Linked DNA regions of Homo sapiens: regions 1, 2, 3, 5, 6 and 7 are each linked to region 4. The links are contacts of gene promoters, found by promoter capture Hi-C in blood cells and fetal thymus (Javierre and others, 2016). All regions are on one chromosome and are shown on one strand. Each heading gives the region's core, a stretch centred on a gene start or on the middle of the fragment in contact. The rest is flanking DNA. Distances are from core to core; before and after follow the strand shown. Region 1 overlaps LOC105376136 (a long non-coding RNA gene). Region 2 overlaps SEMA4D (semaphorin 4D). Region 3 overlaps LOC124902207 (a long non-coding RNA gene). Region 4 holds the start of SYK (spleen associated tyrosine kinase). Region 5 overlaps SEMA4D (semaphorin 4D). Region 6 has its middle 29 kb from the start of GADD45G. Region 7 overlaps SEMA4D (semaphorin 4D).

What was found. Contacts are between HindIII fragments. The CHiCAGO score rates a contact against its expected background, and 5 or more counts as called.
Region 1: a contact is called between a fragment that was not itself captured here and the fragment with the promoter of SYK in region 4, in 3 of 17 cell types (fetal thymus, megakaryocytes and total B cells). The highest score is 8.6, in fetal thymus.
Region 2: a contact is called between a fragment that was not itself captured here and the fragment with the promoter of SYK in region 4, in 2 of 17 cell types (fetal thymus and monocytes). The highest score is 5.8, in fetal thymus.
Region 3: a contact is called between a fragment that was not itself captured here and the fragment with the promoter of SYK in region 4, in 5 of 17 cell types (neutrophils, monocytes, fetal thymus and 2 more). The highest score is 13.8, in neutrophils.
Region 5: a contact is called between a fragment that was not itself captured here and the fragment with the promoter of SYK in region 4, in 1 of 17 cell types (fetal thymus). The highest score is 5.3, in fetal thymus.
Region 6: a contact is called between a fragment that was not itself captured here and the fragment with the promoter of SYK in region 4, in 4 of 17 cell types (neutrophils, fetal thymus, erythroblasts and 1 more). The highest score is 16.9, in neutrophils.
Region 7: a fragment that was not itself captured here is called in contact with the fragment with the promoter of SYK in region 4 in 3 of 17 cell types (megakaryocytes, monocytes and erythroblasts); the score reaches 8.2 in megakaryocytes.

Annotation. Positions count from the first base shown.
Region 1 is chr9:89,306,808-89,310,537 of GRCh38, reverse strand. LOC105376136 (a long non-coding RNA gene) reads left to right here. Exons shown (of 3, transcript XR_930101.4): 1 at 1-1,172; 2 at 1,592-1,680. Among named protein-coding and RNA genes, the nearest start is that of CKS2, 2.5 kb to the left of the region's middle. RefSeq lists a silencer at 1-37. The HindIII fragment of the contact is 2,628 bases long and covers 294-2,921 here.
Region 2 is chr9:89,491,100-89,494,733 of GRCh38, reverse strand. All of the region lies in intron 1 of SEMA4D (semaphorin 4D), which reads left to right. Among named protein-coding and RNA genes, the nearest start is that of SEMA4D, 5.2 kb to the left of the region's middle. The HindIII fragment of the contact is 5,004 bases long and covers 1-3,634 here.
Region 3 is chr9:89,556,983-89,560,564 of GRCh38, reverse strand. It overlaps LOC124902207 (a long non-coding RNA gene), which reads right to left. Exons shown (of 2, transcript XR_007061655.1): 2 at 3,422-3,582. Among named protein-coding and RNA genes, the nearest start is that of GADD45G, 46 kb to the left of the region's middle. RefSeq lists an enhancer at 816-985. The HindIII fragment of the contact is 1,120 bases long and covers 1,471-2,590 here.
Region 4 is chr9:90,800,387-90,803,667 of GRCh38, reverse strand. It overlaps SYK (spleen associated tyrosine kinase), which reads right to left and starts at 1,849. Exons shown (of 14, transcript NM_003177.7): 1 at 1,775-1,849. RefSeq lists silencers at 1,711-1,870, 1,891-2,100. The HindIII fragment of the contact is 2,717 bases long and covers 1-2,651 here.
Region 5 is chr9:89,428,001-89,431,763 of GRCh38, reverse strand. The region is part of intron 2 of SEMA4D (semaphorin 4D); the gene reads left to right. Among named protein-coding and RNA genes, the nearest start is that of SEMA4D, 68 kb to the left of the region's middle. The HindIII fragment of the contact is 752 bases long and covers 2,138-2,889 here.
Region 6 is chr9:89,574,144-89,577,440 of GRCh38, reverse strand. No RefSeq gene overlaps it. Among named protein-coding and RNA genes, the nearest start is that of GADD45G, 29 kb to the left of the region's middle. The HindIII fragment of the contact is 2,103 bases long and covers 651-2,753 here.
Region 7 is chr9:89,408,238-89,411,821 of GRCh38, reverse strand. The region is part of intron 2 of SEMA4D (semaphorin 4D); the gene reads left to right. Among named protein-coding and RNA genes, the nearest start is that of SEMA4D, 88 kb to the left of the region's middle. RefSeq lists enhancers at 1-371, 866-1,025. The HindIII fragment of the contact is 1,340 bases long and covers 1,337-2,676 here.

The DNA of each region.
Region 1 (3,730 bases), core at 358-2,857, 1.5 Mb after region 4:
CCGTCGCGGGGCTCCTGGCGCCCCCCTAGACGACTGTGTGGAGAATGGAGCCTGCGGAGCCACGCGTAGAGAGAGGCCCGGAGCCGGCGCGGTGGCGGCGGGCGCCAGTGGTCCCAGCCACTCGGGAGGCCGAGGTGGAGTGTCGCTTGAGCCCAGGAGTTCCAGACAGGCCTGAGCAACAGAGCCAGACCCCGTCTCCACAAAGAAAGAAACAAATGGGCCAGAGACCCAGAATGCTTTCTGTAGCCTAACCTAATGTTCAAAACCAGGGCAGACCCAAGCCATGGAAAGCTTGAGGGAATAAAATAATATTCTGCTGCGGCCAAGAATAACAATGCTAATTCCTGGATAAGGGGATTTAAAATGATGTTTAACAACTTCTGGTCTTTTAATATTGACCCAAGTTTAAAAACATGTTCATATAAAAAAGTTACTGGAAGAAATTTATAAATGTAACTGGTGGTTATTTTTAGATGACAGAATTAAAAGTGATCTTTTTGGTATTTTTTCCACAACGAGCACGTGTCATTTTTATGTTAATTTCATTTTATGCGAAATGCTCCAGCGCAGTACAGGCTAGTGGGTTCAGGGTGGCTGTGACTAAGTAATGTAGATGGGGTACCTTAGACAAAGTTTCCAGACTAGAGGCTGGAAGTAAGAGGTCCGGGTGCCCTTTTCCACACTGCAGACCACGGACTTTTCCGGTTTCTGAACAAGTGAGACAGGCCGGCTAAGGACATTTATAATCTCCATGGGTGAGGGCCCCACCCTCATGACCATCTAATCTTGATTACCTCCCGAAGGCCCCACCTCCTAACTTCCTAATACAATCACTTCTTGGGGGAAGAGGGTGTTTGGAATTCCACCCCCCGCCCTTTTTTTTTTTTGGAGACAGTCTCACTCTGCTGCTCAGGCTGGAGTGCAGTGGTGTGATCTTGGCTCACTGCGACCTCCCCCTCCCAGGTTCAAGCCATTCTGCCTCAGCCTCCAGAGCAGCTGGGATTACAGGCCCAGCTAGTTTTTGTATTTTTAGTAGAAACGGGTTTTCATCATTTTGGCCAGGCTGGTCTCGAACTCCTGACCTCAAGTGAACTGCCCGCCTTGGCCTCGCAAAGTGCTGGGATCGTCAGAGGCAAGTGAACCAGAGCACCTTCATCTTAAACAGGAGCTGGGTAAGATGAGCCTAAAACCTACTGGGCTGCATTCCCAGACAGTTAAGGCATTCTAAGTCACAGGATGAAATGGGAGGTCAGCACAAAATACAGGTCATAAAGACCTTGTTGATGAAACAGGTTGCAGCAAAGGAGCCAGCCAAAACCCACCAAAACCAAAATGGCGAAGAGAGTGACTTTGGTCCTCACTGTTACACTCCCACCAGTGCCATGACAGTTTAGAAATGCCATGGCAACATCAGGAAGTTACCCTACATGGTCTAAAAAGGGGAGGCATGAATAATACACCCCTCGTTTAGCATATAAGCAAAAAATAACTATAAAAATGGGCAACCAGCAGCCCTCGGCTGTTCTGTCTATGGAGTAGCCATCCTTTTATTCCTTTACTTTCTTAATAAACTTACTTTCATTTTGCACAGTGGACTCACCCTGAATTCTTTCTTGCACGAGATCCAAGAATTCTCCCTTGGGATCTGGACTGGACCCCTTTCCTGTAACAGAATTACAGGTATGAGCCACAACACCCGGCCTGGAATTTCCACGCATGATTTGGTGGCTGGGAGCAGACACAAACATTCGTTCATACATGATAGAATCCTTCAGGTCTCAGATTAAGCATTTCATCTTCTGAAAGGCCTTCCTTAATCAACTTCTCTACAGAAAGTTCTTCAATTTCCCCATTATGCCCTTGCCACCGACTCCAGTGGGCTTCCCTCCCACTGTCGCAATTGCATGTTTGCTTAGGTGGTGGTTGTCTCCCTATCTGCGCTATAAAATACTCTCTGTTAGTGAGCCAAGACTGTGCCACTGCACTCCAGCCTGGGCGACAGAGCGAGACTCCGTCTCAAAAAAAAAAAAAACAACTCTGTGAAGCTAGTGTAGAGGCCATGTCTGTCTTGTTCACCACGGAGTGCCTAGCACATAGCAGAGTTCCTTGCACATAAGCACACAATAAGAAGTAAATTTTAGGCACAGTATAATAAGAGTAAATAATTAGGTATAATTACTATGATGGCAAAAATGTGAATAAACTGTTAAGGAAAATGGACAAGGAAATTACTTTCTGGCAGAACCTGGGGGAAAAAAACTTCCTGGGAGATATATTTTTAAATAAATGTATAGATGCTCCTTAATTTACAATGGGATTACATCCTGACTAGTCAAAAAAATTTTAAGTTGAACCATTGTAAGTCAAGGACCATCTGCACTGTGAAAAGTTCAAACACATGGAATAATAGAATCAACTCCCATGTACAGGTTGTGCATCTTTAATCTGAAAATCTGAAATGCTCCAAAAGTCCAAAACGTTGAACAACACTGACATGAGCTCAAAGGATATGCTCATTGGAGCACTTCAGATTTCAGATTTTCCTATTAGAGATACTGAACTGGTTAACAAAATGCCCATATTCCAGATTCCAAAAAACCCTGAAACACTTCTGGTCCCAAGTGTTTTGGGTAAGGGATACTCAACTTGTTCCAGTCATTTAGCTTCAGCAATTACCGTTTGCCAATCATGTTTCATCTGTTCCTCTCTAACTTTTTTTTTCTAGAATATTACTGAAGAGATCTCAGATATGTCAGTTCACTCCTAAATAAAACTTTTCAGTGTATCTCTGTGTTTATGGTGTGCATCTCAGGAAAATTTTTTAAAAAATGCATAACCACATCATACTTACGCTTAGACGTCCTTAATACTCTTTGATAGCTGTTTTAGACTCACATTTCCCTGACTGCCTCACCAAAGCTTTTTATAGTTTGTTTAACCCTGCTTTCAAACTTGGGCCTACATCTTGCATTTTGTTATTGTCTCTCTTTTTTTTTTTTTTTTTGAGATGGAGTTTCACTCTTGTTGCCCAGGCTGGAGTGCAATGGCGCGATATCTGCCCACTGCAGCCTCTGCCTCCTGTGTTCAAGCAATTCTCCTGCCTTAGCTTCCCAAGTAGCTGGGATTACAGGTGCCCTCCACCATGCCCAGCTAATTTTGTATTTTTAGTAGAGATGGGGTTTCTCCATATTGGTCAGGCTGGTCTTGAACTCACGGCCTCAGATGATCCGGCTGCCTCAGCCTCCCGAAGTGCTGGGATTACAGGCGTGAGCCCCCGCACCCGACCACATTTTGTTATTGTCTCTTTTAGTCTTCTTTAAACAACCCCCCAACCTCTACCTACATAGACACCCTCCCCACACACACCCCTGCCACCTTTTTTAACATCTGTTCATCAAACCAGGTCATTTTTGCCTGTGGAACGTTACACATTCTGGATCTGTGTAATTGTTTCCTTGTGGTGCAGTTTCCCTGGTTTTTCTATTTCTTGTATTTGTTACAATCTGGCATTTAGATCTAGGTTAAAACAAAACAAAACCATTTACCAAAAATTCCTAGTAAGTGGCAGACTCATATTTGAGCCCAAACTGTCTGACTCCAGAGTTAGGCCTCTTACCCACTATTCTGTTCTGTCTCTTAGAGTTCCACAGGTAGAAAGCCAGGAGGGCCAAGCACCTTTCCAAAGGAAGGATTGGTAGTTGTAAAGGTGTGAGGAAGTGTGGTACACACA
Region 2 (3,634 bases), core at 1-2,500, 1.3 Mb after region 4:
ATGAGAGTACCTGGGTTCTTTGTTCTGTTCTGCCTACTTGCATGCACTTTGAAAATTCTCCATCATGAAAAGTTAATAATAATCGGAGATCTCCAATTCCTCCCTGTAAAACATGCCATTGGATTCTTTACTTCATGATGGCATCATTCAAAGGTTTACTTTAAAAGATATGCCAATCTATTAAGTAGAAATGTCACTCCTTAGTGTAGACTATAGAGAATGTGCCCTCTCCATGCACAAGTGCAGGCGCTCAGCACGGAAGCCCATCTGGAAGGACACACACCTGGTATTCAGCAGATCATTATGGAGCCGCCTATGTGGACCTGGTGCCAGGCGCTGCCCCAGGCTCTAGGGACTCAGCCCTGAGTGAAAGCAGCACTCCACAGTTAGCAAAGGGTGGGGCGTGTGTGAATGTGAGTGAGTGTGTGTTGGGGGAGGAGAGGGAAGAGGAAGAGGGAACCTATACTTTGTCTTCTTTTTGTACTTATGTATGGTTTGTTTCTGTTACAAGGAATTATTTTTGGAATATCAAAATGAATTTTCAAAAAGTGGTCTTCATTAGGTCATATACTTTCCTCTGGCGTTTTAAATAGAATTTGATTTGTGGAAGTTCATGTTTCTACACGTCTTAATAACAGATGAATTGGCTTCCATGAGGCAATCAATGAATCAATAGTTATTGATCCTCTGAATATGTGCTTTGTGGGCTATGAAGGATAGAAATCAATATGCTACTATCAGCATTAGGGGAGACAAGACAAAGACCCTGACAATTAAATAATAGTACAATCCAGCCACAGAAGGGTTATCCTTACACTCAGTACAGAAACAAAGGCCAAGTCTGGTCTGGAGCCTGCGCCAGAGGGGTCCCCATTGCTGGTTGGCTGACCTGGACCTGGGGCTTGTTCCAGCATTTCCTGTGGTGTCTTTGTTTTCTTCTTCCATTTAGTAAAGGATATGTTAAGTAACCTAAAGCTATAGCAAAAACATAAGTGATGCGTGCTGCATAGAAGTCTACAAAGTAAAAAGTAGAAATTGCTTAGAATTGTAACAGTTTTTGTATTTTCCTGATCTGTTGCAAGAAATTAGAGTTGCTTGAGCAGCCAGAACGTAATTTGCCTTGATGTAGAATGTGGGTGTTTGTTAGGCCTTCTGATTTGTGTGTGTGTTTTGACTTTGTTTGGAAGGACAGAAAGTTTCCCGTTAGGCCTGCAATTGACCCACTTGGTTCTCACTGTGAGTTTAGGAGCTTTTGTTTGTTGTTGTTCCTGACCGGTGTGTCCCATGTGCTGTGAGGGCACAGCCCAGTGCTGCAGCAGGGCTGTGGCGGGGCTCTGAGCCCTGGGCCATCTTTGAGGGCTGAGGGTCTTGGCACATGTTCATTGTTGTGCTGCCAGGAGCCGCCTGCCTTTGCGCCTGCACAGAACCACCCAGTGGGTGGATGCACATTCTTTTCCCCCATCTGGATCACACTTATCCTGTATAGCCCCCTCCTTCTGAGGGCCCACAAGGAGCTGAGCCATCTGGGCAGGTCACAGTGCTGGCACGTTTGGTCCCTGGTGGGTGATGCTCCTTTGTCTTAGGTTCCTGACCTGAAGGAACTGCTTACCTTTCAGGGCCCTCCCAACTCTTGCACTTGTCCACTTGATGAAGTTTCACTGCTTCCCCAGAAAACACGTATTGAATGTCAGTCATGGCTGGGGTGCCGGGGAATATGGTCAAGTGGAGGGAGATGGGAGGCTAATGAGAGGGGAGATAGATAGTTCTAGGTCCAGCCGCTTAAGGGGCCAGTGGTTTGTTGAGAGGGTGGTTGTGATTTAAAATCAGGTGGCCCCTGTGCCTTGCTGAGCCCTAGATGTAGGGGAGGTGAGGAGTGGTGAGGGGACACTTAGGCACACATGAGCAATGGTAGGAGGGCGGTGCGGGGCGGGCCTTGCAGGAGCTCGGGCAGTCTCCTCGGGTGGGAGGCAGGCTGATTGCAGGTGTTCTGCGAAGACGGAGCCAACAGGACTGTGATGGATCCCATGAGGGCTGTTGCAGCAAGCAAGGGGTCCAGGATGACCCAAGAGTCTTGGATCGGGTGTTGGAAGGGTAGAGTTGCCATCACTCTGAGACTGAGGTCTTCAGGGGAGGAGTTGTGAGGATTCAGAGGGATGGTGTGGCTCTCAAGATAGTACAGGTGAGAGTCCTACTGAAGTGTCCCAGTGGAGGTGGGGAGGAGGAAGTTGGAGGAAGGGATCTGGAGTTTGGGGGAGTGCTCTGAGCTGGGACCCTAATCTTGGCAATATATTGTAGCTATAGAGATGACATTTTGAAAGGGAGTTTGGATGAGACCACTAGGGAGTTGAGGTAGATGGAAAAGAGAAGAGGTCCGAGGACTGAGCCTGGAACAAGAAACCAAGAAGGTGCGGCCAGCGAGGTAGGGGATAACCAGAGGGTTCTGAGGGCATCCTGGAGGCCACATGCAGCTTGCATGAGAGGGAGGGTGACAGCGGAGGTCACGAAGGTGAGAACCGAAGACAACCTGGGGTTTATCCATGTGGTCTGGGATGGTGGGCTGAAGTATGGGGTGAGTTTCTTGAGAGAAGGAAGGAGGGGAATTTGGGACAGCAGGACCCTATTGCTTTTTCAAGAATTTTGCTGCCGTGAAGGGCAGTGGGGAAGTGGAGGGGGGTCATGGGCAGATAGGGCTGAGGGAGGCCCGCTTGGAAGGGTTGCATCCTGAAGAGAAGGATGGAGCAGAGTGGGAGGAAGCCGTGAGGTGGGTGGGAGGGACAGAGACTGGCTGGGGCCGCCCCTTTGGTGAAGGATCCCCATGAGCTGCTGTTGACTCTCGGTGTGTGCTGTGCCTCCTCTTGGCCCCGGGGCCCACAGATGCATGGGGCTGTCCCATCGCTGGTGGACTGTGAGCATTTTCCTCATCACCTTAGTGAGTGCTGGCATTGTCTCCAGGCCGGGCAGGGATGGCCTGCATTTTGCCTGCAACACTGACTCTCAGTTCCACATGGACTGAACGCTGGAGGAATGGGAGTGTGCTTCTCTGAGAGTGGTCCCCGCACCAGCGGCATTGCACCCCTGGGAAATGCAGAGTCTCCCTGGCATCTGGAACTGTGGGGTGGGACCAGCCATCTGTTTGTTGTTGTTGTTGTTGTTGTTGTTGTTTTTGAGACAGAGTCTTGCTCTGTCGCCAGGCTGGCATGCAGTGGTGTGATCTCAGCTCACTGCAACCTCTGCCTCGTGGGTTCAAGCCATTCACCTGCGTCAGCCTCCTGAGTAGCTGGGACTACAGGCACACGCCACCATGCCCGGCTAATTTTTTGTATTTTAGTAGAGACAGCGTTTCACCATGTTGGCCAGGATGGTCTCGATCTCCTGAGCTCAGGTGATCCACCCTCCTCGGCCTCCCAAAGTGCTGGGATTACAGGTGTGAGCCACGGTGCCCAGACTCAGCCATCTGTTTTAACAGGCTCCCCAGAGGCTTTTGAACTGCTGCCCTAAGACAGGCCCACACTTGGGAGTGGGTGGGACAGGCCCATGGGGAGAAAGTAGCGGTCCCCAGGTTGGATGCACCTTAGACTTGGGGTGCTTTCCACGTGGAGTCCCACTAGAGGCAATGCTGTCCTACTCAGTTTTA
Region 3 (3,582 bases), core at 781-3,280, 1.2 Mb after region 4:
TCCCAAAGTGCTGGAATTACAGATGTGAGCTACCTCGCCCTGCCCAGGCATTTTTCTTTCCTGTTCATGTTGCATTTCCATACTGATGCATCACAGGTGAAATTCCTCCTAACTTTCTTAGAAATTCCGGCAGCCCAGGTCTTTCCTTGGAGCCCTGCAGCTGCACATCTAGACAGCCTGTTCCTCCCGAGTACTGGGCACCCACTCTGGAAGGGACGGGGAACCCCACCAACTTTGTCCTTCTCATATCAGCAGCCTGAGAAGGAGTCCTGCCAGCTCCCTTCCCTGCCCACTATCAGAGGCCACCACTATTCTGACTCCCGAAGATCTCTTGAATCTTTCCGAGATCATGCAGCCATTATTTACCCCCAGCACCACTGTGGCAACATCTCCACAGGTCCTTACACTGTCCGCATGGAGCCACAGTGAGTGACAAATAACAGTAACAAATGCAGATCCGATGGTGTCATCTTCCTGGTCTACATTCTTGGTGACCTGCCGTTGTGCTACAGCTATGAAGCCCAACTTGGCAGCCACAAGTTGCATGTGCTATTGAAATTTTATTTAATTAAAATCTAAAATTCAGTTTCTTGGTCACACTAACCACATTTCCAGGGCTCAGTAGTTACATGCGGCTACCACACTGGTCACTACAGATACAGAGGTTTTCTCTCTGTGCAGCAAGTTCTGCTGGACGACGCCGAATTGAAACATAAAGCAAGACCTTGAACTGGCCCTCGAGGCCTAGCAGCACCCCCAGCCTCACCTTGCACAATGTTCCCTCACACGCCACCCTCCCATTGCTCCAGTCCTGGCATCCCAGAGTCCCTTCCACCTCAGGGTCTTTACACATGCTGCTCCCTGCACCAGGAGCCCCACCTCTGCCCTCTGCCCCCACACACCTACCTCATCTAGCTGATTCCCCTCCTCTGGTAGAATTCAGAATTCGCTGGTCAGAGATTTCCCTGCCTTCCCAGATGAGGTCAAATCCCCTTGTAGAGCAATCTAATGGCTCCTATACTTATGGTTTAAAGCACTTTAATGATGAGAGCGTTGTTGTAGTTTAAGTAGTGAAGGGTATCATTCATTGCTTAGAGTGTCTTTTCCTAACAAGAATGGAAGCTCTAGGATAGCAGGTGTCTCATCTGTCTTGGACAACACCCAAACCAGTGCAGTACCTGGGACATAGTAGGAGGTAAATACATATTTGTTGAATAAATGAATGAGTTTAGAGGCTGATTCAAACAACATGAGTATCATAAGAGTATTAACACCTAACAAAGAAGGGTTTCCTCCATTCTAAACTCAGAGTAGTAGAAGCTGTGAATTAAATAATGTTTTGACTATCTGCTGTACACTTCATGTGGGATTTGCCGCAAGGACAGGGGAGGGGCCAGAGATAACAGCTTAGGTGGAGAGAACCTGCTGAGCAGCTGCCTGTGAATTGGAGAATGTAGCCAGTCCAAAGCTTTCCCCAAAAGCCTGGGTAGTGAGGGACGTTTGGCTGTTAACACCAGAGGCAAGAGCAAGCCTCTGCTGAAGGCAGGCTATGATCACAGGCCTTTAATATGCATTGCATTCAATAGAATCTTACACTTTTATACATTAGTGCAAAAGACTGAATGTGCCTCCTCTCCCCAAACCATATGTTGAAACCCTAACCTGAAATGTGATTGTATTAGGAGCAGAGCCTCTGGGAGGTGATTGGGTCATGAAGGTGGAGCCCTCATGAACAGGATTAGTGCCCTTATAAAAGAGGCCCCAGAGAATTCACTAGCTCTCTACTCTCCATCACATGAGGACACAGCAAGAAGGCATCATGGTAAACCAGACGCAGCCCTCACCAGACACCATACCTGCTGGTGCCTTGATCTTGGACTTCCCAGCCTCCAGAACTGTGAGAAATACATTTCTGTTGTCTATCAGCCACTCAGCCTATAGTATTTTATAGCATCCTGAACTAACACAGCGATACATACTGTACTGAGTTCAGAGGATATGATAGACTGTCTTGGATTTGCTTCAATGTGAACAGATATCTATAGGAAAAAAATAAACTTCGTCCCCTGCCTATACATACACAAAGAGAAATATGGAATGGATTACAAACCCAAAATAAAAACTAAAGCTATAAATCTTCTAGAAGAGAACATGTGCCAGCTTCACAGGAAAAAGCAAAAACCACAAGAGAAACTATTGGTAAGTCACTTTCATGAAAATATAAAACTATTATTCATTAAAATACACCATTTAGAAAATGAGGAGGCAAGCCACCTATCCGGAGAAAACGTCCAGGGTTGATTCGCATTACTGGTGGTAGTTACAGTCTGTGAAGTGCCTCTGTCCAGGGTTGATTCTCATTACTGGTGGTAGTTACAGTCCGTGAAATGCCTCAGCACCAATTTAGTGAACACCAAACCACGGTTCTTAGGGAAGGGAAGGTTCCTATGAGCCTCTGGTGATAGCATTGTCATCAACCCATCAATGCATAACCTTGTTTGATGTGTGTTTCTATTGAAAGATGCTTTATTTGATCAGCACTGTTGATTCCTTTACATTGAACTCGCAGCCAACACACTTGAATGAAGCTTCTCTAACACACCAGTTTTCTCCATAAGGCACAGCACAGCCTTCTTGCACTTTGGAGCCCCAGACAGCGCTTCAGCACCATGCCGGGGCTGTTACAAACTATGAGATCCCCAACAAAATGCACAGAAACGTGAAAAAATGGGGCACTAAATGGACCGTAAAAAGGACACTCACCGTCCCTGTGGGAGCTGCAGCAAGAAGGTGGGGAGTTGCCCTGTCCATCCCAGCTGGGGCCACACACATCAGACAACTCCAATGTCTCAGGGCTCTGTGTGTGCCCACAAATGGCCACAAAATCGTCCACAGTATTGACTTAGGGGTTATAAGTACATTTTATCAAGTAAATGAATTCAGAAATATGGAATCCACGAAGAATAAGGATCAACTATGACAAAGAATTGGCATCAAAAATATATAAAGGCTGGGTGTGGTGGCTCACTCCTGTAATCCCAGCACTTTGAGAGGACGAGGCAGGTGGATCACGAGGTCAGGAGTTTGTGACCAGGCTGACCAACATGGTGAAACCCTGTCTCTACTAAAAAATACAAAAATTAGCCAGGCGTGGTGGTGGGTGCCTGTAATCCCAGCTACTCGGGAGGCTGAGGCAGAAGAATACCTTGAACCCAGGAGGCGGAGGTTGCAGTGAGCCAAGATCATGCCATTGCTCTCCAGCCTGGGTGACAGAGTGAGACTCCATCTCAAAAAGCAACAACAAATTTATATATATATATATATATGTATGTATATATGTGTGTATGTATGTATGTGTGTGTGTGTATATATATATATATATATATATATATAGAAGTTATACAACTCAATAACAAAAAGACCAACAACGAATTTTTTTTAATGAGCAAAAGATTTGAACACATTCTTCACAAAGGAATGAACACCCTTGGCCAATAAGCACATGAAGAAAGGCTCAGCACGGTTCACCTACAGGAACGTGCAGATTCAAACCACATGAAGGTGCCACGGCACACCCACGAG
Region 4 (3,281 bases), core at 600-3,099:
TAAGTGAAGTTCTACTAAGAAGTCTTCCATTAAAAAAAAGCAGAGAGATTAGACCTGCATTTAGAATATTAAATAGGGGCCTAACAAAGATCAGGGTGATTCATTTCTAAAGTGAAATCTAGCAATAAAATAACGTTTCTACCAATTTCATCTCTCAGGAAAGATAAAGACCTAAAGTATACACCCCATTTTTATCCTAGCTTAAAACTTTCTAGTTATTAAGACTATTATAAAATCCTATTTTATATTTCACTTCAAATACAGAGGCTTAAAAAAAAATCTTCCCACAATCCCTCAGTAGAAAAATCTCTTTTTTCCTAGTGTTCAAATCCAACCTTTTCAAATCCAAGGTAGAAGAGTAAGAGGATAAGACACAAATCAAGTAATTTGATTATAATCTCTCATTCAAATACACTTTAAAGTGCACTTCAAATACAGGGGATAATACAAATCAATTTCTGTTTTAATGCAAGAGTTTTCTAAATACGTTAAAACAAAAGTGCCGTTCAGAACAAAAATGATTTGATAAAATAATTTCAACTGACAAAGATTTCTCACTTAAAACACTTAATAATTTACATGTATTTAAGCCTTTTTGAGAAAATATAATTCTATCTATGCACTGCTCGGACTTTCACTGGGGAGAAGGAGGACATCAATGTATTTAGTTGCATTTAATTAAAATGCTGCCTGTGTGAAGGCAATGAATTTGTCCCTACTAAGACAAAGAAGTCAGATGGTAGAATCAATTCCATTTCTTCCAGGAACTCTTAGGGATTAAATGGTTCCTTTTTTTATTTTTAATACCAAGAATCAGATATGGCACAACATCTTCAACTCTTTTTTTTTTTTACTACACGCTGCAATGCTTTGAACTCTACTTGAGTTCGACTGAATCTTTGCTAAGTCAGGCAAAACTCAAAAAATATTTTGCAACACTGTTTCCAACGTAAAAAAAGATTCAAACTCTCACTTCTCCAATTGTCTTTCTAGTCCTTGAACATTCCAACAAAAGAATGGATTGCATTTATATAGTTTTTAGGTGGGCTTAAGGTTTTGGAGCCACATTGCCAAAAACAGACAAACAGACAAAAAGAAACACCCTTAACTCTTAACTCAAATTTACATTTTACTACATAAAACTTTCTTGCTCTCCAAGTTCATTGGCTAAGTAAATTACTTGACAATGAAAATGTATCCACAAGAGTAATTATGCTAAATTTTAGTAGTGGTTCAGAAGGGTTGTTGTTTGAATGCAACTGCTGTTTCTTTTTGTAGTAAAAGATTTGTCTAAGCTCATAAGACGTCTGGACATTTCTACTTTGAGTAACTTTGATAAACACTGCGGCATTTTCCAGTGGATTCGTGTAAATGGCCAAAGGAAAATGTTCTAGCTCCAAGATCGACTTCCTCGCGCTGTGCCTGATCCCAATCCCGCGTCTCCCGAGGGCCGGGCCGCGACCGCACTTTCCGCGCTCCCTGGGGGCCTGGGCGCCCTGGGGTGCCCGGGTCACTTTCCGCACGGTCTGACCTCCGTCCCCTCCGCCCAGGCCTGAGCCCCTCTCTCCCGGCGCAGCTTCTGGATCCCGAGCGCGGGTAGGTTCAGGAGCGAAGCTGGCGGAACCCACCTGTATTTTATTCACATGGTTTCAGCACTTTTACCTCGGCCGATGAAGGTAGAACAAGAAAGGGCATGAAAGCAGCGCGTCGTTCCCCGTAACCTCCTCTCCTTACCAGAAAGTCCCGGCCGGGTAGGGGACGCGGCCACACCTACCTGCGCCAGGTGAGGCGAGGGCGGGCGCAGCGCGGGGCCACCCGCTCCTCCTCGCTCTCCAGCCGCCGCCGGGGTGGCCTCAGCCGCCGGGCCCGCGGCTCTTCCTCATTTTGGGCAACTTCCTTAACGCGCCCGGGCAGGCGGCCCGCACTTCCTCCCAGTGTCGCGCCCCGCCGCCCTGGCCCGCCCTGCTGACCGCGCCCATGAGCCCGGAGCTGGGCGGGAATCGGCTGAAGCGCCGGGCGAGGCCCGCGGAATCGGCCCAGGCGGCGGCAGGTGTAGAGGAGCCCGGGTGGGGCGCGCCTCTCTCCTCCCGCCGGACAAGGGCCCTTCGCAGGCAGAGAAGGTGGGGCTGCCCGGGACATGGACCGCATCGGTCCCCCTCCTCCCCGCCAGCGCGGTGGCTTCTGTGACTGCCCAGGACCCACAGACACCCAGCGGCCCTTTCCTTTTGCTATGCAGTGCCGGGGAAGAGACTCCACTGCATGGCATATTCCCTGGAGTGTATCTTGGTCACCAAACCAACAAGCTCCAAGCTACTGTGCTGGAGCACTCGGGAGGCCTGGGCAGTGCTGAGAGGGACCCTGTAGGTGAACACCAGACTTCACGGCGCACTAGTGGGCAATGGGGCACGCTGCTTCTGAAGGCTTTAATTATTACAAAAGGCTTTGCTTCCTTCTTACCATGACGGCTCTGACGTCCACAACCAAATAAATTAAACCTATAGCCCTAAGAATGGTTTTGAGATACCCGCCTGATACCCTTCTCCCAACCCATCCCCCTTTTCCTTTTGGACATTCCTCTTTAAAATGTTCCCACAAAACGGCATCCAGACCTTCTTGATAACACTGGTTGGCAGTGCCTGTTTTAAAAAGCTTTACCCTAAGCCAAAATGCGAGAAGCAAAAAAATATATATATAATGTGCTGGATTGTAATTGCCATGGAGAAAATATAGGGATGGGACTATTTACACTTATTGGAGCCCCCAGCCTTTTCTGCTTCCAGGGTTATTGGATTTTCATTCATTTTTGCCATTATTTTTTCTAAACCTGTTAAAAGAAAACTTCAGCAGAATTAAATTTAAAGCAGTTTAATTGAGTAATGAATGATTTGCGAATGGGGCAGCTTCCAGAATCACAGCGGATTCAGAGACTCCAGGGATGCCTCATGGTCAGAACATATTTATAGACAAAAAAAGGGAAGTGACATACAGAAATTGGAGGTAAGGCAGAGAAACAACTGGATTGGTTACAGGTTGGCTTTTGCCTTCTTTGAACACAGTTTGAACACTCAGCAGTGTATGAATGGTTGAAGTATGGCCACTGGGATTGGCCAAGACTCAGCTATTGTTAAAGGCACATACTCCTAAATTAGGTTTTCAATCTTGTCTGCCTATTAAGCTAGGTTACAGTTCATCCACAAGGACTCAAATATAGAATACAGAGTCCTTCTCAGATCATACTTAGGTTGCTTTAACAAACATAAATGGAAGATTTTGATAATGGT
Region 5 (3,763 bases), core at 1,264-3,763, 1.4 Mb after region 4:
GGCTTTGGGAGGCCAAGGTGGGAGGATCACTTGAGCCTAGGAATTCAAAGCCAGCCTGGGCAACATAGCAAGACCCCATCTCTACAAAAAAATAAAAAGATAGCTGAGCATGATGGCTCACGCCTGTAGTCCTAGCTACTCAGGAGGCTGAGGTGGGAGGATCACTTGAGCCCAGGAGCTCAAGGCTGCAGTGAGCTATGATTGCACCGTTGCATTGCAGCCTTAGTGACAGGGTGAGACCCTGTCTCCAAAAAACAAAAGAGAATCTAGGGAAACTGCTCTTGTTTGGGAGAACAATACTGAAAAATGCCTCCAGTAAAAAAATTTGGAAGATACAGGAAAATTCAAAGAAGACATTGAAAGTGCCCCTAAAATTCCACCTCCCAGAATTAGTTCTGGCATTTTGGTGTCCCTCCTCCTGGAGGTTGCTCTACCTGCATTTGCAGGTGGTGTTCTAGCCAGCCCTGGGTGTGCCCCGGGTGGCTCACCCGCAGGAGCAGGAGCAGGAGCCGCCAGGGTTAGGAGTCAGCCTGGGAGTGAGCTTGGAACGTGCCAGTCAGGCCATTCCCTGGGTGTGACCTTTTATGACTGGGTTTTTTACATGAGTAAGCTTGCACTTAAGTGCTGTTTTATCTTCTCCTCTTTGCATTTAATAGAATGTTTATCTGTATTTGTCAATAAACATCGACTTGTGTGGATTGTACTGCCGGCATAGCATGCTATAATATTATTGTTAATTTAACCTGTTTCTGATGGGTGCCTATTTGTTTTTTGGTATTTTTCCCTCAAGATGGAGTCTCGCTCTGTCGCCCAGGCTGGAATGCAGTGGCATGATCTTGGCTCACTGCAGCCTCCGCCTCCCGGGTTCAAGCGATTCTCCTGCCTCAGCCTCTTGAGTAGCTGGGATTACAGGCGCGAGCCACCACACCCAGCTAATTTTTGTATTTTTAGTAGAGATGGGGTTTTGCCATGTAGGCCATCCTGATCTTGAACTCCTGACCTCAGGTGATCTGCCCGCCTTGGCCTCCCAAAGTGCTGGGATTACAGGCTTGGGCCACCACGCTCGGCCCATCTGATGGTGCATATTTGGATGACAGATTTTTACTGATAAGGCACCATGGAGATAAACATCCCTGGGCAGGGCATCTCTCTGAGCTTGCGGGGTTGCTGAGGCCTTGGAAATACACCTGTTAGACTCTGTAGACATCAGAGGCCAGTTTCCCCCTCCCCAGTAACTGTGGCTGGTCCTCTTCCCTGCCTGGGAAGATGTTGGCTGTTTGTCCTCCGAGCCTGGCTGCTGCCCCTCTGCAGGCTCCTGCCCTGGGTGGGTTTTGCGTCTGGACAATAGCCACCCCTAGAGAGGCAGTCACAGTCAGTTGTCTCCCTCTGAAGCTTGGAGGGCATCTAACTCACCCAGTAAGTGGGGTCCAGGCCCCTTGACACAGTGTGTATGTGGTTGGGGAGCTGTCTGGAGGGTTTGCTCTTTGGCTGCTGGGGAGCAGGGACAGATGCTTGGAGTTTCTGGCCCCAAGTGGGAGAGTATTGCTGAAAACTTCCTCCTAGTTCTGAAATTTTGTGGTGTATGTTCTGACCGTCCAGTAATTCCCTTCCCTGTGTGAAATATTTCCAGAACTTTCTGTCATTTGCAGATGCTTTGGGCATGACTTGCCATCCCAGCCTGAGGCCCGTCCTCCTCAGCCAGGCTTGTGACCGCTCCCACCCACAGAGCTGCCCGTCAGGGTTAAGCAGCAGCTTTGGAGGCTTTGATACAGGTTTTAGGGTTACAGAGTTTTTAATGAGGTTTTCTTGTTATGTGCATTTTCAGAGTGCTACTATTTGGCAAAGCTTGACCCCAAACAGAAACCCACAGCTGCATTCTTCTGAGCACGTAACTGGCCACTCCATCCACCATGTAGACTTCAGTTTGCAAACCGCGTAATTTCTTTCTTGTGCTGCTTTTTAAAGCTAGCAAAAAATTATTGCACCATGCGCTCTGGAATGGGCTGTTAGCAGCGTGCACTTCTCTGGAACAGCATGCTTCCCGGGCTTCTGGAGGTCGGGTACGTCCCTCGGCCACTGTCACCCGGCTGGGACCCAGGAACCTGCTCTTCATGAAGTGCTCACCAGGCTCCAAGCTTGAGATGAACTTGAGATTCTGTTAAGAAACCGATTTGAATGAGCACAGCTCAGCCCAGGTGTGCTCAGGAACTTGCTTTGGCCCACCTGAGTTTGTCTCTGATGCAGGGCGGGGAACTTTGCTTTCCATGCCTGTAGTGTCAGACACTGCCCCCTACCCCCCAACACTGATATGACTTCCGGAAGTTTCCAAGCCTTGCTTTCTTAGCTGCAAAAGAGGGATGGTGACAGTGTTGCTGGGTGACCTGAATTACTGTCTTCACAGCCCCCTCTCCTGGCCCCAAGAAGGCGCTCACCCTGATGGGGATGTCGATGCTCTCCTAGATGTCGTCTGCTTTGGGTGAAGCTAGGATTAGAGGCTTCTTGGCATCCAGAGTCAGCCGAGGTGGCCGCCGGCCTGGTACAACTCCTGGTGGTGGGTCTGGGAGGGCTGACTGGGCAGGGAGGTTAGGAGAGCCAGGCTACATGCCACTTCTGTCCAGTGCCCATGCCCAGGCTGCCCCGTGGGTAACCTGCATTTGGGGAAGGAGCTGGGGGCTGTGCTTGACTCTTCGCACTCTTGGACGAACCGCTTAGTGGGCCTGTGACCCAAGGCCAGGAGTGAGCGTGGAAGGGGAGACCCCCCCCACAGGGACCTAGGTCCATCCTGTCTGTCTTCTGGACCTCTGGAGCAGTCATGCGGAGCCTGCAGTGGTGTGGTTGGCAGGGTCCAGGGGCCCTGAGGGACCCAGGGGGCAGAGCCCTAGAGAAGCTTTGCGCTGGCTGCTGACAAGGTGGAGATGGGGACCTAGTGGCTGCTTTCTTGCGTATTTCCCTATGGCCAGCCCATACTGGGATCTGGTTTTTTGCTCTTCTGGGGGATGTCTGTCACCCTGCCCCTGGAGGTGGGTTGGCCGTGTGCACCATGGTCCTGTAGGTGGGGCCGGGGGCCATTGCCCTGGTGCAGGAGAAAGCAGTCTTGGAGACAGTGGGCCAGGCCGTGTGCAGAGTGGCTGGGAGCTGGCCTGCGCTGCATGACCTTGAGCAGGCTCCGTGACCTTGAGCAGGCTCCATGCCTGTGCCTCATTCTCCTCCTGCCTGTGATGAAGGGGCCGGTTCCTCGTGGTTCTGAGTTCCTGTGACTGGCTATTTGTAGCCCTGAGATCCACGCTGGCTGCAATGGAGGATGTGTGCCTCCCCTCTGCTGCCGCCTGGCACCCTCTCTGGTGGCTGGGGCATGGCACTGGGCTCTTGGCAGGTCATATGGGTCTTGCCCTCGTCCTTCCAGTTCAGGTTCCCCTGCAGGGCCAGGGACTGTGTTTGGGCAGTGCTGGGCAGCATCGAATGTGAGGCCCAGAAGGAAGCTGCATGGGCCATGGCGGGGGCCGCCTGGAGCTGGTGGCCAGTGGTGGTCCTCAACTTGTGACCACTGAGATGGTTGGGAAGAGCCTGCCCAGGGAATTGTTCAGTGTGGGGGCCGTATCCCTCCATGACAGGTCAGCGGTGGTCAGACGGACAGCAGCAGGCCCTCAGTGACACACGCAGGTGAGAAGGGCCTGGGTGTTGGAGCCAGCGTCTCAGGTCAGCCCTAAGCCACCCACGCCTACAGGGCAGAGTCCACCCCTCAGGGCCAGGCGGGCCCTCCACA
Region 6 (3,297 bases), core at 453-2,952, 1.2 Mb after region 4:
TATATTCATCACATGACACAGCAATGCCACTGCTTGGTATTTACCAAGAGATGAAAATACACGTCAACAGAAAGACTTCTGTGTAAATGTTTGTAACAGTTTTGTTCATAATATCCCAAAGCTAGAAGCACCCCAAATGTTCACTGTGGTTGGATGAGTAAACAAACTGTTGTAAAGCCATTCAATGGAACACTAGTCCACAATAAAAAGGAAGAAATTACTGAATCACTTAACAACATGGATGAATCCTAAAAGCAAGGGGCTGTGGAAAAGAAGCCACCTACACGAGGCTATATACTGTATGAGTCCACTAATACGAAATTCTAGAAAAGGTCAAGTGGCAAAAACCCATCAGTGGTTTCCAGGGGCTGGCAGGCAGGGAAGGTACGAGGGAAGTGACTGGAGTGATGCCAATGTTCTCTATTACAAGTGTGGTGGTGGAAACAAGACTGAATGTGTTTGTTACAACTCTCTGTATTGTATCCTTAAAATTGTTGAATGTTATTGTGGTATAAATTATACCCCAATAAAACTGACTCAATACAGGAGAGACAAGAAGTATTTTTAAGCATATTCCTAATTTAAGATCACTAAATTGAAAGTCGAAAGGAAGATGATAGTTTGTGGATTATGTTAATTTAAAACAAGCTTGTCCAACCCTCAGCTGGCAGACCGCCTGAGGCCCAAGGCGGTTTTGAATGTAAACCAACACAAATTTGTAAACTTTCTTAAAACATCATGAGGTGTTTTTTTTTTTTCCTTGCTCTTCAACTATCATTAGTGTTAATGGATTTTATGTGTGGCCCAAGGCAATTCTTCTACCAATGTGGCCCAGGGAAGCCAAAAGATTGGACACCCCTATTTAAAAGGTTTAAATTTTAACAATAAACAATTTAAGGGTCCCAAAGCAAAAAAATAGGTGCACACCGCCATCTAGTGGTCTAATTCCACAATTACAATATCATTCTGGCTTACCAGTTTAAGATAAAAAAAGTCCAGTAAAAAATTATTTCCCAAAAGTAATTTTATAACATTTAATATCTATTAGCAATAGGAAAAGTTGAAAGCCCTAAGAAGGGGAGATTATTACCTACATTTGGGCAACAACAAAAATCTACTTTAAAGACATTCCCATTTCTATTAGGGAAAAAAAATTACCTGTTGTGAAAATTATTATTTACCATTTGTCCAGAATGTTCAGTCAATGCAAAATATTTAAAAATAAATAAAACAGAAATAAGATGTGTAATTATGTAAAAGAAGGAAATAAAACTATCACAACTGGAGGATAGTGGAATAACACTCAAAACACAGCTAATCATCTTAAAATTCATATATGCATCAAGTGATTATGTATAAGATTAAACGTTACAAAATTAATAGCTTTTCTTTTCTTTTTTTTTTTCCTGAGACAGAGACTTGCTCTGTCCCCCAGGCTGGAGTGCAATGGTGAGATCTCAACTCACTACAACCTCTGCCTCCCAGATTCAAGCGATTCTCCTGCCTCAGCCTCCGGAGTAGCTGGGATTACAGGCACAAGCCACCATGCCCGGCTAATTTTTGTATTTTTAGTAGAGATGGGGTTTCACCATGTTGATCAGGCTGTTATCGAACTCCTGAACTCATGATCCACCAGCCTCAGCCTCCCAAAGTGCTGGGATTACAGGCATGAGCCACCCCTCCTGGCCCATTAATAACTTTTCTATAACACAGCAATCACAGAATATAAGCTATAATGGGGGAGATATTCCATTAATAATAGCAGAAATAAAAATACATTAAATGCCTATGATCTTTAAAGCAATATAGACAAACTAAGGAAGAAAACCATCAAAATTTACTGATTGAGGTACAAAAAAGTTTTCTTTGGTAAGATATATATTATTTCTTAATAGAAAAACTGCATTTATCTTAGATGTTTTATGAAACTCCAGTCAAAAATTAGTACAGTATCTTTTTAGAACTTGTTCATACAATTGAAGTTAATCTAAATACTACAAATGTATGCACACATTACTAATAGAATACATTGCGGTGCATGCCTTTTTTTTTACTTTGTATACTTGGCATCATATGGAATGCATCTTTTTTTGTATTTGAGACAGAGTCTGGCTCTGTCACACAGGCTGGAGTGCAGTGGCGCAATCTCAGCTCACTGCAACCTCTGCCTCCTGGGTTCAAGTGACGCTCACGCCTTGGGCTCCAGACTAGCTGGGACTACAGGCATGCGTGACCACATCCAGCTAATTTTTGTCTTTTTAGTAGAGGTGGGGTTTCACCATGTTGGCCAGGCTGGTCTTGAACTCCCGATCTCAGGTGATCTGCCCTCCTCGGCCTCTCATAGTGCTAGGATTACAGGCGTGAGCCACTGCACCCAGCCAGAAGACATTATTTTGCAACTTGCCTTCTTACAAAGAACACTACCATTTTTAGATGCATTTGTGTAACCGCCTAAAGGGTTCTGTTGTAGACACATACCCTAAATTGTTCATTCTTCTGTGAATGGATATTTACATCATCCACTTTTTTACAATACAAACAGTGCAAATGTAACCATTCTTTTTGTCTCTCCTGGTGCACAGGTGCACATATCTGAGCACAGACTTGCTAGGTCACAGGGCATGTATACATTGAGCTTTCCAAAGAGGCAGTGCCCAACCCCCGGCCATAGAATTATCTCCTCTTGAAAGACTAGATAGTAATATATGCTACCGACTAAATTATGCCTTCCTCTTCATTCTAATGTCGAAGCTTCACCCCTAGTGGGATGGTATTTGGAAAGTGGAGCCTTTGGGAGAGATGAAGGTTGGATGAGGTCACAATGGTAGGGTCCTCATGACAGTATCACTGCCCTCATAAGAAGATGAAGAGACTTCCCCCCACCCCTGGGCACATTGAGAAGGCAGCCGCTGCAACCCAGGAAGTGGGCTCTCGCCAGGAACCAACCTTGCCAGCACCTTGATCTTGGACTTACAGTTTCCAGAAGTGAGAAAATACATTTCTGTTGTCTAAGGCACTCCATCTACAGTATTTTGTTATGGTGTGTGGTATTTTGTTATAAGTGTGAGCAGGCTAATACAATATACCTCTGCTATGAAACTGTATTTCGTTGGTGATAACTAAAATTGTACTGTCTTAATTCAGAAATTTTCCCCAAAACGTGTTGCAGTTTCCAATGCTATTTTCCATTTTTTAAATTTGTATTACCAATAATTTTCTGTAAGTTTTCCCCCAAGAGTATATGTCAAATGCTTTATTATATCTGGCTCATAATGTTGTTTTATGTTTTCTCATTGA
Region 7 (3,584 bases), core at 757-3,256, 1.4 Mb after region 4:
TGAGCCCCCAGATCTGGCTGCCCTAGGGACCCAGGCTCTGCACAGAGTCAGCTCACTCTTCCCGTCCTTGGGAGCCTCCCTTCAGGGGGTCATGTCTTCTGCTTCTGGATCCACTGGGCTGCTTTCCCCAGGCTGTGAGGAACCAGAACATGGATGTCTTTTTAAGGTTAATTCATTTTATGAGAGTAATTAATGCAGGTAATTTTAAAGTGAAGTAGTTCTTCTTTAACTTGAGAGAGGAAGCAGCACTTGCTTGTCTTGTCCCTTTGTCCCTTCCCTGCTGCCCTGAGACACTGAGTTTCAACTATTTTCACTATTTTGGTATTTTCCTTCAAATTAGATATGCCTACATTTCCTGACTTTCCCATCTTAGATGTTGTGTTATGATGGAAGACAGGATTGTGTTCTCTGACTCTTGTCCCCTCCCTTTCCCTCTCTTTCTTCCCCCAGACCTCCAGTGGAGTTAGTTGTAATTTTTGTAATGGGGGCTATGCAACTGGGCAGTGATAAGTACACTCTGGTTACATTTCCATTCATGGGTCACTCTTGCTTCCCTGGGGTTAATAACTTCATTTTCTAATCTGTGTATCTGTTCTAATTCATCTTCAGACTCTTTGCCAGAGCCTTAAAATGCATTTCTGAGAACAAAGCCACAGATGCAATCAGTAATCCACTGTGCCTTCTCCTGCCCCGCCCCATTGGAGCCTCTGCCTGCTCCCCAGCTCCCCGCTCTCTCTGCCTCTCCTCCACTCGCTTCCTAAGAAAGAAGACCTGGGAAGCAGCTCCCTTGTTTTGGTGGAGCAAATCCTGCAGTAGCTTTCTGAGAAAGAAGCTGAGGGAGGTAAAACATTTGAGAACTTGTAGGTTTGAAGCAGTGTTCTGTACTGCACTCATACTGATTGATAATTTGACTAGATGGGGAATTCTAGGTATGAAGTCATCTTCCCTGGGATTCAAAGGCGTTGCTTTGCTGCCTCCAGTGGGGCACTCAGAGGTAATTTCTTTGTGGCCTGTTTCTTTCTGGAAGCCTCATGTAACCCTCCTTTCAGGATGATGTGTCTGGTGTGGGCGGGTTCCTTTCATTCACTGTGCTCCTGGGCGCTGTTATTCCGAAAGCTCAGGTCCTTCTGTTCTAGTTATTTTCTTTTTATTACTGCTTTAATAATTCCTCATTTTTTTTCCCGGAGCTCCTGCCAGTTCATGTGGGACTCCTGAATGGATCGTCCAGTTGTCTGTTCCCCTTTTTTTCATCTCTGCTACGTGTGTAACTTCTAGGAAACCTCTTTAGTTTACTTTCCAGCCTTTCATTTCTTTCACCACATTTTACTTTTAAGCTTGCTTCCATTTTCCAGGTTGTGTTTCTTTGTGACTTCTTCCAGGCCCTGGCTCAACTCTGGTCTGAAATTCAAATCAGTCAGCTCTGGTGGTGTGTGACAGGGTTGGTGGTAAACACAGCCACTGTTAAAAATTAAATATGTGGACTTAAAATGAAACAAATTATATTTAAAAAGGTAAAATACTCAGAACTCATTCCTTTCTAGTATCGTGTGCATTCTACTGTTATCTGTGTGGTTGCAGTTACTCGCCTCTTGTATCTGAGATGGCAGTGCCATGTGCTGGGTGCTGCTGTGCACCTCTCCCCAGTTCAGCGGCATCATTCTGGGAGCTCGAAAGCAGCATTTACACCACAGAAATCAGCGTGTGCTGCAAGCTGGGCACCCCCCACCTTACCCCACCGCCCACCCCCACTGCCCACCCCGTGGAGAGCCAGTTGTTACAGCTTGCCAGCACACCGTTGGTTACTGCTCACCTATTAATAGATTCCAAAGTCACCTCCCTCCTCCATTTTTATCCTTAAAGTTCATATCCTTTTAGAGTCATTTCATTGGGTTTCCAGAGAGAGTTGAAATAAATCTCTGTGTTCTCCCATCTCCTGGCTCTGGACTCTTAGCCTGGCCTGACCCCAGCATGCTTATTGGGATACGCAGAGGACTGATTGCAGTTGGGGGATCTAGATAGGAATTAGATCCCATGTAAACCATATCTCTCCAACAGTGATCCAGCATCTTTGGTATTTGACCCGAAATGAACTGGGCCTTGTGGGTCTTGCGTCTCTGCTCCTAGCCCTCCGGTGTGGGCACTTACTTCCTTAATGTGTCCAGGCCATGAACCCTCACAGAGGCTGCTTTTGTGACTGGCAAGGAACTCCTAGGCCTGTTCCTTGTTGTTACTGATTTTAATAGACTTTATTTTTTAGATCAACTTTAGGTTCATAGAAAAATTGAGAAGGTGGTACAGAGATTTCCCATATGCTCCTTCCCCACACATGCACAGCCCCCTCATTTTCAGAATCCCCCCACAGAGTGGTGCCTTTGCTACAGTCGGTGAACCCACATAGGTACCTTATCACCCGACATCTGTATCTGGACATTAGGATTGCCAGTTGGTGTTGTACATTCTGTAGGCTCGGACAAATGCATACTGACATGTGTCCACCGTGGTAGTATCCCTGCCAGCCTAGTTTCCCTGCCCTAAAAACCCTCTCTCTCCCCAGCCCCTGGGAACCACTGATCTTTTTACTGTCTTCATGGTTTTGCCTTTCCCAGAATGTCCTATAGTTGGGATCATGCAGTATGTACTTCTACAGATTGGCTTCTTTCTCTTTAATGATAAGCTTTTAAAGTTCCTCTGTGTCTTTTCATGGCCTAATGGCTTATTTATTTTTAATGCTGAGTAACGTTCCCCTGTCTGGATGTAGCGGTTTGTATACCCACTCGCCTGCCCCTGGGCTGTCTCCACGGCTGGCTTCCTGTGTGGTTGGCACGCCTTACCTCTGCAGGCTCCGCATCCGTCTTCAGAGCGCCTTCTCCCATCCCATGGCAGCTCATTGCTGTTTCTTTTGTGTGTATGGACCTTTGCCCAGCTGGGGGACATGCCACGAGAGAGGTTGTTTCTGCTTTATCCTTGCTGTGCACAGCTTGGCACTGGCTGGGACCTGGGTCTGGGTGTGGCTTGGAGGAGCCAATGTCAGTTCATTGGGTTTCACTGGGCTGGGACTGCAGCACATGGACCAGGCCACTGGTGTCCTTGCTGCATGCATGACAAGAACCCTTTCCAAGGCCCTGCCTGCCGCAGGCCTGCCTCCTCCTCCTCCTCTAGTGGCGCGGGAGCCAGTGTGAAGTCTCTCACAATGCGAGTGTGCAGTCCTCTTCTGCTTTAAGGGATGGGGCAGCCTGGCCACGTTGTCACTTCTGGCTCTCACTGGCTGTATGATGTTTGTCACATGGAACGGGAGAAAGGACGCATCCTTAAAATGCCAGGGGATCATTGCTCCAAAAGGAGGGGTAGCTGGTTTTTAATGGGAGCTTTTCTCTTGAGGGACTGTGGATAGCTTGTCACCACTGTTACCATCCTTTCTTATGTCTGTCATTGCATGCAATGAGGACTGAGAAGAGCAAGGGCAGCAGGACCCTGGAGGGGCATGGGATGTTTGTGGGTGCCAGGCCCTGGGCTGGTTGCTTCCACGCAGCCCCACTCCAGGGCGTGGGTTCTGTGGGGCCAGGACTTGTTTGTTCCAGGCTTAG